4 separate regions of the Homo sapiens genome follow, and regions 1, 2 and 4 are each linked to region 3. The links are contacts of gene promoters, found by promoter capture Hi-C in blood cells and fetal thymus (Javierre and others, 2016). All regions are on one chromosome and are shown on one strand. Each heading gives the region's core, a stretch centred on a gene start or on the middle of the fragment in contact. The rest is flanking DNA. Distances are from core to core; before and after follow the strand shown.

What was found. Contacts are between HindIII fragments. The CHiCAGO score rates a contact against its expected background, and 5 or more counts as called.
Region 1: a contact is called between a fragment that was not itself captured here and the fragment with the promoter of RAD51B-AS1 in region 3, in 2 of 17 cell types (total B cells and non-activated CD4 T cells). The highest score is 6.3, in total B cells.
Region 2: a contact is called between a fragment that was not itself captured here and the fragment with the promoter of RAD51B-AS1 in region 3, in 3 of 17 cell types (naive B cells, non-activated CD4 T cells and total B cells). The highest score is 7.4, in naive B cells.
Region 4: a contact is called between a fragment that was not itself captured here and the fragment with the promoter of RAD51B-AS1 in region 3, in 7 of 17 cell types (non-activated CD4 T cells, endothelial precursors, naive B cells and 4 more). The highest score is 10.7, in non-activated CD4 T cells.

Annotation. Positions count from the first base shown.
Region 1 is chr14:68,479,976-68,482,980 of GRCh38, reverse strand. It overlaps a transcript of RAD51B not described here. Among named protein-coding and RNA genes, the nearest start is that of RAD51B-AS1, 200 kb to the left of the region's middle. The HindIII fragment of the contact is 5,113 bases long and covers 1-3,005 here.
Region 2 is chr14:68,521,179-68,524,069 of GRCh38, reverse strand. LOC124903334 (a long non-coding RNA gene) reads left to right here. Exons shown (of 3, transcript XR_007064223.1): 2 at 1-1,455; 3 at 1,649-2,891. It also overlaps a transcript of RAD51B not described here. Among named protein-coding and RNA genes, the nearest start is that of RAD51B-AS1, 160 kb to the left of the region's middle. The HindIII fragment of the contact is 4,614 bases long and covers 1-2,891 here.
Region 3 is chr14:68,684,180-68,687,096 of GRCh38, reverse strand. It overlaps RAD51B-AS1 (RAD51B antisense RNA 1), which reads left to right and starts at 1,657. Exons shown (of 4, transcript XR_007064220.1): 1 at 1,657-1,726. RefSeq lists an enhancer at 1,320-1,369. The HindIII fragment of the contact is 3,133 bases long and covers 411-2,917 here.
Region 4 is chr14:68,502,094-68,504,793 of GRCh38, reverse strand. It overlaps a transcript of RAD51B not described here. Among named protein-coding and RNA genes, the nearest start is that of RAD51B-AS1, 180 kb to the left of the region's middle. The HindIII fragment of the contact is 1,397 bases long and covers 669-2,065 here.

The DNA of each region.
Region 1 (3,005 bases), core at 296-2,795, 200 kb after region 3:
AAGTGCAATATTGAGTCACACATGGAGAGCTTGTCTGGAGAGTCTCAGACATGCATGGATTTTGCAAGTCACTGAGATTTGGGGGGACTGTTTGATAGGGAACAAAACCAAATGTGTCCTGACTTATGTCTAGTGATTTAATGGTTTCCTCTCCTCCCAGATCTATTTGGAGTTTTGGAAAATATGTGTTCCATCTGAACCCTGCCCTCACCGAAATTCAGAAGTAGGCAGTGTGTTTTCTCTCACACTTAGGATGTTTGGCTGAGAAGTGTGATGAGTGCCTTCCCTCCATTTGTGCAAAAGAAGCCTCTTTGAATTCTGGAGTGGAATGAAGAAAGTCCTTTCACAGCCACAGGATAAAAGTGATGGTGATGATATTGAAAATAAAACATGGAAAAAATGACCCTTCCAAATGGTTCCAAGACCAGTTTTTAGGCTAGAATCAGATATTTTGCACTTCTCCTTGCCTTCACTCACTTTTCTCCCATTACCTAATCCTTATCCTCCCTTTCCAGAATTCTCATTTGGCAATCCTGGTTTTGCTGGACAAACTTTTACAACCCTGTCTCTGAGCAGTCATTTTGCTTTGTTCACAACACACAACCTAAAAGACATTATGCACAGAGTTCAAGGCTCTCTGGGTTAATCCAAAATGTTCACCCTGTAGGCTGACGGGGACCACACATTTCTGAATCTTCACCAGGACTGCAATACCTTAATAGAATGGCCAGAAGGCTAGCAGGATTAGGGAGACAAAGTTGAACTTTGATACACACACACATACACACACACACACACACACACCCCTAAAATATCTCTGAATTGCATCATTAATTACTTTCAGTAAAAGTAATTACTTTCAGTAAAAGTAATTAATGATACAAAATGCCACACTAGAATCTCATGGGTGGTACCAGCTTGGCAGATTATCAGCTCACGGGGAAGAATGCTACCTGTGTCCTTCTTTCTTGTGAACATTTCCTGGGGCAACTTTCCTGTGCATGTCTTCTGCTCCTTAAAAATGGTGACATGATAAGGCAGTGATGGAACCTCTACTATATTCTGAGCATCACTGCTCAGAGTAGAAGATCAAACTACTAGCATTGTTCCTGGTGATTCTTTTATTTAGAAAATATTCACTGAGTTCTTTACTATTGTGTGTGTAGTATTATGCTGAGTACTTTAGTGAACTTAGGATGAATAAGAGTTGTGAACAGAAATATTACAGGGCAAGGGATGAAAGAGAAAAGAGAGTAGAACTGCCTGAGTTCAAATCCACATTTCATCCTTTCTGGTGACAAACTGAACCTCTCCTGCTTCAGTTCCTCATCTGTAGAGAAGGAATAATACAAAATTCTACCTGTAAGATTACTGGAAGCATTAGAGAAGATTGTGTATGTAAAGTGTGTGTCAGACACGCAGCAAGTGCTCCATATCAGAGGCAGTGCTTACGTCCTGTCCCTGCAGCATGGTTTGTGGTGAAGGCCTGGAGGGCCTTGGGCAGGAGAGTACTGTATTGGTTTGTCAAACACTGGGTATAGGGCACTCTCTTATTGTTTCTTGGGGTCAAAAAGGTAGTCTCAAGGAGGAGCCACTTAATTTTTGACATTTGGAATTAGGATATGTTTTCCTCTTGCTTTTTTCAGACACTTTTGAGTGATCCATTTTAATGTGTGAACAATGTAGCATTTTTTTTTTCGTGGCAGACAATGGAGGTGAAGAGAGAACAATTAGGAGTTGCAGAGAACAGACAGCATCTTGCTCAATGTAAGGGAGGAAAAATAATATATTTTCCTCACCTATCTCAAGGTTCGTGGCTGAGAGCACTACAAGAAAACACAGATTAACAAGAGAAAAACATATACATTTACCTTTTTCTTGTTTTAAACTGAAAGTACCTACTAAGTGACTCAACCAAAACCAAAGAGCCTTTTATGACTTCACCATGGACTAAGAAGGGGTTCTCAAAAGAGAGTGCAGCCCTCCCAAATCCAGAACTACCCCCAAAGAGAGTCAAAAGAAATATACAAATAAACCCCCCAAGAGCTGGCAATACTTGGTAGGATAGCTGGAAATAGGGTGCAACCCACATTTCTGTCCAGCCGTATTCTTGAGTTCCCTCCCCTGAAGTTGGTTGGGGAACTCAAGACAGCTTGCATGCCCCAACAGGGAGAAAATCAAACCAAGTTATCAGGACAGAAATTGAGAAAAACAAGGAAAGAGACAGCAGTCCCTGCGAGGGAAAGGATCAGTAACAAACGAGTACCTTAAAGCCAGATTTAGTCAGAGAGTCACAATATAGACATTTTTTTTTTTTTCCTGATAATCTGAATTTGGGAAGGAAGGGACAAGGAGAAATTTCTAACGTCTCTCTTGACCAAGCACTACAGACAGAGATCTGGGAGAGCTGACTTTGATAAGAATTCTAATTTTTCCAGCTTTTTGTCAGTTGCCCCAGGATCTCATCTGCAAGATCCAGAATGAGTGGGGTGTCTCAGTCACCCCATATTGGGCACCAGAAACTGTAGGGGAGAAAAAGTAATATCTTGCATGAACGCATTGCAAGGTTCATGGCCAAGGCCCCCATAACAAAAGACAGATTTACAAGAGAAGGCCGGGCTCACACCTGTAATCCCAGCACTTTGGGAGGCCGACGAGGGCAGATCTCCTGAGGACAGGAGTTCGAGACCAGCCTGGCCAACATGGTGAAACTTCATCTCTACTAAAAAAAAGTACAAAAGTTAACCGGGCATGGTGGCACATGCCTGTAATCCTGGCTACATGGGAGGCTGAGGCAGGAGAATTGCTTGAACCCGGGAGGCAGGGGTTGCAGTGGGCCAAGATCATGCCACTGCACTCCAACCTGGGTGACAGAGCAACACTCCATCTCAAACAACAATAACAGCAACAACAACAAGATTTACAAGAGAAAAGCATAAAAATTTATTTAACGTAAGTTTTATGTGACATGAGAACCTTTAGAAATGAAGACCTGGCTGGGCGCG
Region 2 (2,891 bases), core at 62-2,561, 160 kb after region 3:
TAGAACAGTGTCTGGTACTTGGTAAAGCTGTGATACACCATAGCTGTTATTATTATCAAAAGATTAAATAAGACACAAACCTCTTTTACTGTCACAGAACTGGCCATTTTGATGCCACCAGACCATTGATATTCACTCCATTTTGAGCACGACAGACACATTCCTAAGCAATATGCTTCTTTGTTTTGCTTTATAGGAATACATTTGACCCTTGAACAACATGGACTTGAACTGCCTGGGTCTACTTATATGTAGGTTTTTGTTTTTTCAACCAAACACAGATAGAAAATACAGCACTTGCAGGATACAAAACCTTTGTGTATGGAGGACAACTTTCCCTATACTAAGGGGCAGTCCCCCACATACACCAAGAGGCATTCCTACAAATGCTTTTTCTTGTAGTGGAGGGTAGACATCAAAGCCCACTGTTGAGGGGGTAAATGATAGGCAGATGGAAAGCCGGGCACTTATGCCAGGGCCAAGAGAAAGCTCCTCTATCCAGTTTGGGTTAGGGATGTAAATAAGGCATAGTGGGTTCTCTCAGGGCTCTTTGGTGCTGGCTGTCTTCCTGATTCTCACCCAAACTCAAAAGGGAACCTCCCAGACAGTGCTACGTTGCCTTCACAGTGAATCAAATCCTGTTAATCCAAAAGGCCACCCCAGACATCACGAACAGATCTTGGCCAAGTCCATTCTAATCCAGCTTCAACCCCACCATGCCCCAACTCCACTTTCCACTCTGCGCCTTGTGGCAGTGTTGAATGTCAGGGAACTCTCCTTGGGGACTGTAAAAAAGCCCTCAGGCTTCCCATCCCAGGGCAGGGCCACTTGCTCTCCTCTGCCCTCATGCCTGGTATCCGCTTTCTACTCTCATCACAGCCTGCCTCTGAATTGCCAGCTTCTACCACCAAGCCTGGAAGAACTTCAGGGACCAAGAACCTTAACTCCAAATGGAACACAGGCCACAAAAATTCCTCAAATATGTACACCAAAACAAAAGGGTCCCCGGGGATTCACTTTATCTTACCAAGTTTCAGCTGAAGGGGAAGCATTCTAATGGCAAGTAAGAAAAGCTGTCAGAGAACTGTTTTGTTCAACATCAAATGCATTCCAGGCCTTATTTAATCAGGGAGCCCTCTTCACAGCTGATGCAGAGGTTGTTCCTGCAAATTGTTCCTGAGTCAGGGAGAGGAGCCTTGATTTTCAATGCAAAATAATGTTCTTTTGGCACAGGCAAAGTTGGTTGGCAGCTGGAGGTTTGGGGTGACCTCTGACCCTCTCCCACAGTTCCTCCCAAGTCCCACTGCACAAAACTAAGCCACCCTCAAATCCCAGGCTCTAATTGGCTCTTTGGTTTGTTTTGCTTTTCTCTTCTATCCAGAGCTTCAAAAGGCACTTCGATAATTGTTTGAGGCATGAAAAAGGCAGGTTTCAGCTTTCCTAACTGGAATGGAGGTAATTACTGTCTTCCACACACGAGCCGGTACATGCTTGAAATCAGATGGCTCTGGGTTGTTTTAGAAAGTGTAGCTGGGCCTCTGAGCCAGGAGAGGGAGGATTATGGAGCCTTCCAGCGGCTCCATTCCAGAGAGGGAGGAATTCAGACATCCCAGAAACGGTGAGGGTAACTTCCATATTTTTTTTGCAGTCTCTTCAATTCTGCCCAAGAGATTTGGCCTGAAAAGATTGTGCCTTCAACCTCATCCTGGAAATTCAGGTAGCATTTTTCGGTTTTCTCTCTCAGGAGACAGAAGCTGACACCCCACATGACTCCCATCTTGTCTGTAATCAGCAACCAGGGCTTTGACCTGCACTGTCCTCCTTTCCAGCAGCAGAAAGGGGTCAAACTGAGCCAGGTCTAGTAAGAGCTATCTCAGAGAACCAGAACACGGATTTGCTTTTGTTCTCTCAGGACAGCAAACCCAAGGGAGGGCAGACTCAGGCTCACATCCCACTCACACGGCCCTGAGTGTGGACTGGGAGCAAGACGCTGCTTCAAATTTCAGCCTGCCAGCTGTGTGTCCACAGGCAGCTAACAAACATCTCTCATCCAGCCACAGCCTCACCCAGAGAAGAGTAACCGACCCAACCTTATAGCGTTGCTGTGAAGTCAGTTAACATAGGGCTGAAGTTTGCTGTGAAGTCACAGCAACCCTATGTTATGGTTAACTTCATTTAACATAGGGTTAATGTAGGTTTAATATGAGGGGCTAACAATTACATATAAATGTTAGCTACTGTAATTGTCAGATGCATGGCCACTGGTGCCAAAGGAACCACTCTGAAAATTCTGGAGGTTTTCAAGACTCTGGGGATTCAGAAATGGAGGAAGAAAAGAAGCTGCTGCAGGAACAGTGCAGGGAAGCTAGAAGGGAACAGGGTGGCAGCCCCAGCTCAAAAGGTCTTCCCTCTCAAGGGCACCACCTGAAACGTATAAGGTTGCCTGAAATTCCACAGATTAGACATTTAGTTTTGCTTCTTTACAACAATATATCTCAAAGAGAACTGGCTGGTTAAACATTATTCATACATCTGTGTGAACTGGTTTATTTGCTCTCTTCCTAATACCTACACACTTAGAAACTCCAGGGAGCAAAGAGCTTGGGTCTGAGTTAGGGACTAGGAAAGGAACAGAAAGTAATAACTTAGAGTCATGAAGCACTGTCCAAGACATGGCCAGCTGTTCAGACTCTGAGAGCCCCAGTTCAATTCACTGGCTGGCCTGCAGACAGCCTGCCTGGCTCATGAGAAGGGAGGAGTGGGGAGTCAGGACCTGGAGGTCCTGAGGTGCTTTTCTGATGTTGGTACTTTCACGTTGCCCACTCATAAAATACCCTTTGTAAATGGCTTCTGGGACTCCCTCCTCTCTGGGAGTGCCTCCTTCGTGAGCT
Region 3 (2,917 bases), core at 408-2,907:
GGAAACAACCAAGTGTCCATCACAGATGAATGGATGAACAAAACGTGCTACATGCACACACACACACACACACGCACGCATGCACCTGCACACGCACACACACACATGCACCTGCACATGCACACACAATGGAATAGTATTCAGCCTTCAAGAGGAATGAAATTTTGACACATGCTACAACATGGATGAAACTTGAGGACATTGTGCTAAGTGAAACAAGCCCGTCACACAAGAACCCTGCGTGACTCCACGTATGCAAGGTACTTAGAGTAGTCAAAATCATAAAGATGAAAAGGAGAATGGTAGTTGCCAGGGGCTGTGAGGAGGGGAAAGAGGAGTCAGTGTTTAATGGGCACAGAGTTTCAGTTTGGAAAGATGAAAAAGTTCTGGAGAGAGATGACGGGGAAGCTTATACAACGATGTGAATGTACTTAATGCCACTGAATTGTACACTTAAACATGGGTAAAATGGTAGCTTTTACGTTAGGTATATTTTACCAGGATAAAAAGTTTTTTGTGTTTGAAAATATACCCTCTAATAGACTCAGAGTTGCTGACAGGCCCTCTCCATGGGTTGATGTAACCGTCTCCTTACCTCAAGACGAGGTTGACCCATCCAAGATTGGAGGGAACTTATCCTATTTTCAGATTATTTCCAGGGAAGGGAGCCCATGACATTATTAGGCAATCTTTTCCAGTGTCTCAAAACCCCAGACATTCTGGGTACCAGACCTTTCCTGCTGCACCTGAAGTTGATTTTCCTTGGTCAGTAAGTGCTTTGTCAGGCCACAGACTTTTCATGCACTCAAAGGCTCTAGTTACACCATCCCTAGCGTAGATCTGATGGTGCCAAGTAACAAGCCAGCAAGTGGACTTTGGAGGCCCAGCAAGCCTCCCTGTCTCACAGGCTTCTCATCAGTATAATGGATAAACAGTGCGAGGCTTGGATTCCTAAGCAGTCCTGGGACACAGGCCCCGCCAGGCCCTGGCAGGTGAAGAGCCTACCATTTCTCACTTCATTTAGGATGTATAATAGTTTGTTGGACGCTAGAACTGTACCCTTTCAGATCTGTGTCTTTACTTTTCAGCTGGAGGCCTCTTGCTGACAGGGTAGCGTTTCCCAAAGACACGGGAGCTGAGCTGGTGAGTCATTTCAACAGCCCTTACACTCTCCTCTGACCAGAGACCACATGACATATTAATCAGCTGCTTGAAAGGTATACCTGGCAGGCATGTTTCCTGCAGCCTGGAAGATGCTGACCTCGTCAGCTTTGAAACATCAAAGGGCTAACAAGAGAACAACAGGCTGAGAAAGACCTCATCACCTGGGTGCCTGTTGACCGCAGCCTTGTAAGGCCCAACACAGCTGAGATGTGCTGTCTGGAGCTCGGAGGAAGTGGAGCTTTTTCTGCTGTGAGGACCCGCCTTCAGCCCCCTTTTGGGGCACAGGAAGGGGAGGGAGTGAGCCTAAATTGTGGCCCCATGCTTAGTGACTCAGATGTTACTGCTACCACAAAGGGAAATTCATGTGGGGGTGGACATCTCCAGAGACCTCACTCACCTGTGATTTGGGGGATAATAGCATCACTCATGTGTTCACGTGCCAGGCCTGTCACCCCGGAACATTAGTCAAAGGGCTGTGTTGACAGTGATTTCAACTCTTGAATTATACGAAGGACCTGGCCGCAAGAAGGCATTGAGCCCCGAGGAGGACAACAGGCCTCAGGTACTTCATGTGATTAAAGCTGAGACAAGGGGAGTCCCATGGGTCAGTCCTGTAACTGGGGTCTGATATACACTAGTGATAGGCATTAGCATAGTTTGCACATTATATGATAGTCTTGGTCCTTTTCATTTCCTGATAAGCTGGAATGTCTGACAGAGTAAATTCCAGATGCCCTTGTGGAATTCTCATTACGATCATGTTGCTAAGGAACTGTCTTCTACCTGTATGCAATTTGGAAATACTATTAATAGTATTAACATGGAGTTTTGCAGTGTGTGGGTTTATTTCTTATTGTATTTATAATCACCCCCACCACTACCTTCCCACCGCTGGCTCACCATCTGAGGAGCTGGCATCAGGAAACTCAAGAAAGAAGGAAGGAAGGAAGGAAGGAAGGAAGGAAGGAAGGAAAGAAGGAAGGAAGGAAGGGAAAGGTTGTCCAGGCTTCACAGGAAGAACTGCATTTGTATTATTCTGTATTGAATTCTCAGGACCTCCACATTGCAGGCATCTAGAGGCTCCAATTAATAGTTGATAAATCTTGAAGGGAGGAAAAAATAGTCACAGAAAGTTCACTTGAGTGACCTGAAATTCTATAGCAATTTAGCCAGGGAGCCGGGAGGAGAATATGCCCTTCCAACTTGCAGGCCAGCTCTCTGCAGGAAGCCAGGCAGCTCTCCCAGGGGAAGCAGTGGCCAGGGCAAGCATGGGTCTTGAAGCTCAGGACTGGCTTTAGGACTCTGGCTCAGACAAGATGGGTGGCTCAAAGGTATTGAAGGGCTAGGTAGGGCCCTGAAAATTGGGCCTTTCTGCAGCAATCATCAGGGAGACTAATGGTCCTGGGCTAGGGAAGGAGTCTTCTTGGCCCAGAATGGCCAAGCAGCCAAATATTAGAGCACCTCCAGGGAGGTGTCCCTGGAAAGGGTCCTCCCCCAGTCAGCTCCTGCGGAGTGCAGGCAGGTTTGGGGGTCTCTCCTCTAGGAGAGATCCAGGGAGCTTGAGAGCAAAAGTGACAATGTGCCTGCCTTCTTCCTTCTCTGTAGGGCTCTGTTCTCTTTCTTCTTTTTTGAGGCAGGATCTTTTGCTTTATTGTCCAGGTTGGAGTGCAGTGGCATGATCACGGCTCACTGCAGCCTCAGCCTCCTGGGCTCAAGCAATCCTCCCACCTCAGCTTCCTGAGTAGCTGAGACC
Region 4 (2,700 bases), core at 118-2,617, 180 kb after region 3:
GTGCTTAAATAGTATTTGGCAATGGAGAGCCATTAAAAAGCCATATGCGATTATTACTATTAATTATTTTTTAAGCCAGGAAATGAATGATTGAAAATGAACTAGCAAAAAAAAAAAAAAAAAAAAAAAAAGAAAGAAAAAAAAAGGATTACTCCTTTGCAATTTAAGTTTCCTTTCCCATCTCTAGCTGTCTGAGCTTCCACATCCCAGTCGCAGAGTCCACTGGGAGAGTTTCCCTCCCAAGCATCATGCATGGGCCCAGCCCAGACACATTTCTCCAGTCTTCATGATCAGAGGCACTGATTGTCTGCTGTGGCATTACCTAAAGTGAGTGGTCCAGCTCAGGCTTCGGCACCCTTGTGACTGAGCAAACTCATTGATGTACACAAATGGAAACCATGCCTAAATTAAAGAATGTGCATATGGGTGAACAAAGAGGGGATTTATATGGTGTGCAGGCCAAAGTGGAGGCCTGATTCCTTGGTTTTGCCCACCTTCTTTCCTAGACCTTCAGATCCCCCTACCCCTAAATATGTCAATGAAGTCCTTGGTTTCAGCTGCGGAGTCAGGAAATACAACTGGAGGTAGCATGGGATGCTGGCCTGGAGAGTCATTGCGCCCCGATCCAGCTCTGTACTCTGCTTGCCTTGGGGAGAATTGCTAAAGCTTCTGGTACCGGAATGTGTCCATGCCTAAAACGAAAGGTACTATTAACGTGCATCTACCGACTTCAGAAGGGGCCGTAGGGATGAAGATGTAATTAAAGCCTGTGAGCACTTCGTGCTTCTTGATGAAAGACAACACCACCACCGTGAAGTTTTATTATCTACCGACTCTGTTTTTAAAATGATTCCAATTCCTTTCTGTTTTTCCTTTTGGGGTCTGCATAAACTTTGTTAGCTATTAATTTCAAAAAAGTCCTCCTTGCACCTCAGAGCAGGATTTTATTTAGCGCCTCAGAGAATTTCTTTCCATACTGCAGACCCTCAAAGGATTCCTCTTGGTCAGGGTGGAAGAGGCCTGCGTGTGTTCAGCTGCTGAGTTCAGTTCAATTTAATAAATATTTATGGAACATCTACTAACATCTTCTTAGCCCTGAAAGGCAGGGCAGGGCTGAAACAAGTAGGAAAGGTTGTGAACTTTGGAGCCAGGCTGCCTGAGGGTTGAATTCCAGCTGACACTTCCATATGGGTCCTTGGAGAGCCTCTCGTCACCTCTCTGAATCTCTGTTTGTCACCTGGAAAATGGAGATAACCCCATTCATCTCCCAGGGTAAGGTAATAAAAAGATAGAAATCTAGTGAGTGGTGGGTAGGCGCTCAGTGAGGCCTTGCCGCCTTCTCTGTAGCATCAGCCTCTGGAGGAGGGGGAAGGGAGATGCCTCCTCCTCAGCTGTTTCTCCTCCCTGAGGCCCTCTGTCTACTCCTAAAGGCTTGTCCATCCATTTTGGAAAGAATGTCAGCCGGTTAAACCAGTGCTTCTGAAATGTTCTCATGTCAATTTCTCCCATGCTCCTGGGCGGCTCATTTCCTCCACACACACCCTCCTCCACCAAAATACCTCCAAGGCCTCCCCATCATTACGCCCTCCACCCTCCCTCCAAATCCATTCCCAAGGAGGAGAGAAGAGCTTTCCTATTCTTTTGAGAGAGCACACAGTGGAAGTGGCTTTGCTTTGTTGTCTCCACTTCAGAAAAGATCAAACTGCAGGCTCCATGAAGTGTCAGTCCTCCAAAGGAGCTTCAGGTCAGAGGGAGGAGGGGTGAGGCCAGGCAGGGTAGGCTGAGGCTGTCCCAGAGGGACCAGTCCAGGCAGAACCAACACAGCCTTCCAAGATGCCCTCGCAGGGGCCCACATCACCCTGGATCTAGCCTGAAAGATGCCCCCTAGAATGTTCCCTGGCAGATATGGCTGTCCTGTCTGAGAGAACCACGATAAAGGAGTCCACACAGGATCCTGTCCTTTTCTAAATGAGGATTCTTGTCTCCCAGGTTCCCAGGGAGGACAGCGGATGCAAGGGAGCCCTTGAATAGGCACCGCAGAGGCCAACACACTTTAAATTAAGCTTCCGATGCTTAGAAGGGGCCACAGCTTCCCACAAATCCCCTGGTGCATGCAGCTTTGAGGCAGTGTTCAGTCCGTCTGTTCTTTTAGAAGTGCGCCTTGGAAGCCAGGAGTTATTTGTTTCCGAAAGGTAGGCACTCATCAGGTGGGTGGTCTTTGCATTTTTTGTGTGCTTTGATTCCCTCCCTTTTCTTTTCAGGACTATTGAGGGGTTTATTTTTCCCTCTCCCAGCAGTGCTTGGGGGTTTGGCTGCAATGTGCATCTGTGTTGGGTTTTCCCACAGGGCCCTGCAAAGGCAGCCCTGTTGCCTTCAGAAAGTCCCGGGCGGCCCGTGGGGGGAGTCGGAACTGCAGCTGTGCGCCCCCCTCCCTTCTGCAGCAGGCTTTGATCAGTTTTCGTAGGGGCTGAGTGCAGCCTGACCTCCCATCTCCAGCGTCTCTCAGGTGGAAAGTTCTGTTCAGCCTGTCTGTGGCTTCAAAGGCTCTCCCTCCTTCAGGCTGGGATGAGACTGATAATGGTTCTCATTCTGTTGTCGTGTGATCTCCCAGCAGCCCCCATCTTTCCATTGACAGGCTTTTACTTATTTGGTTGGGCTGCTTTGGCCAAACTCAAACCACCTTTCTGGTTGAGGAAGCAC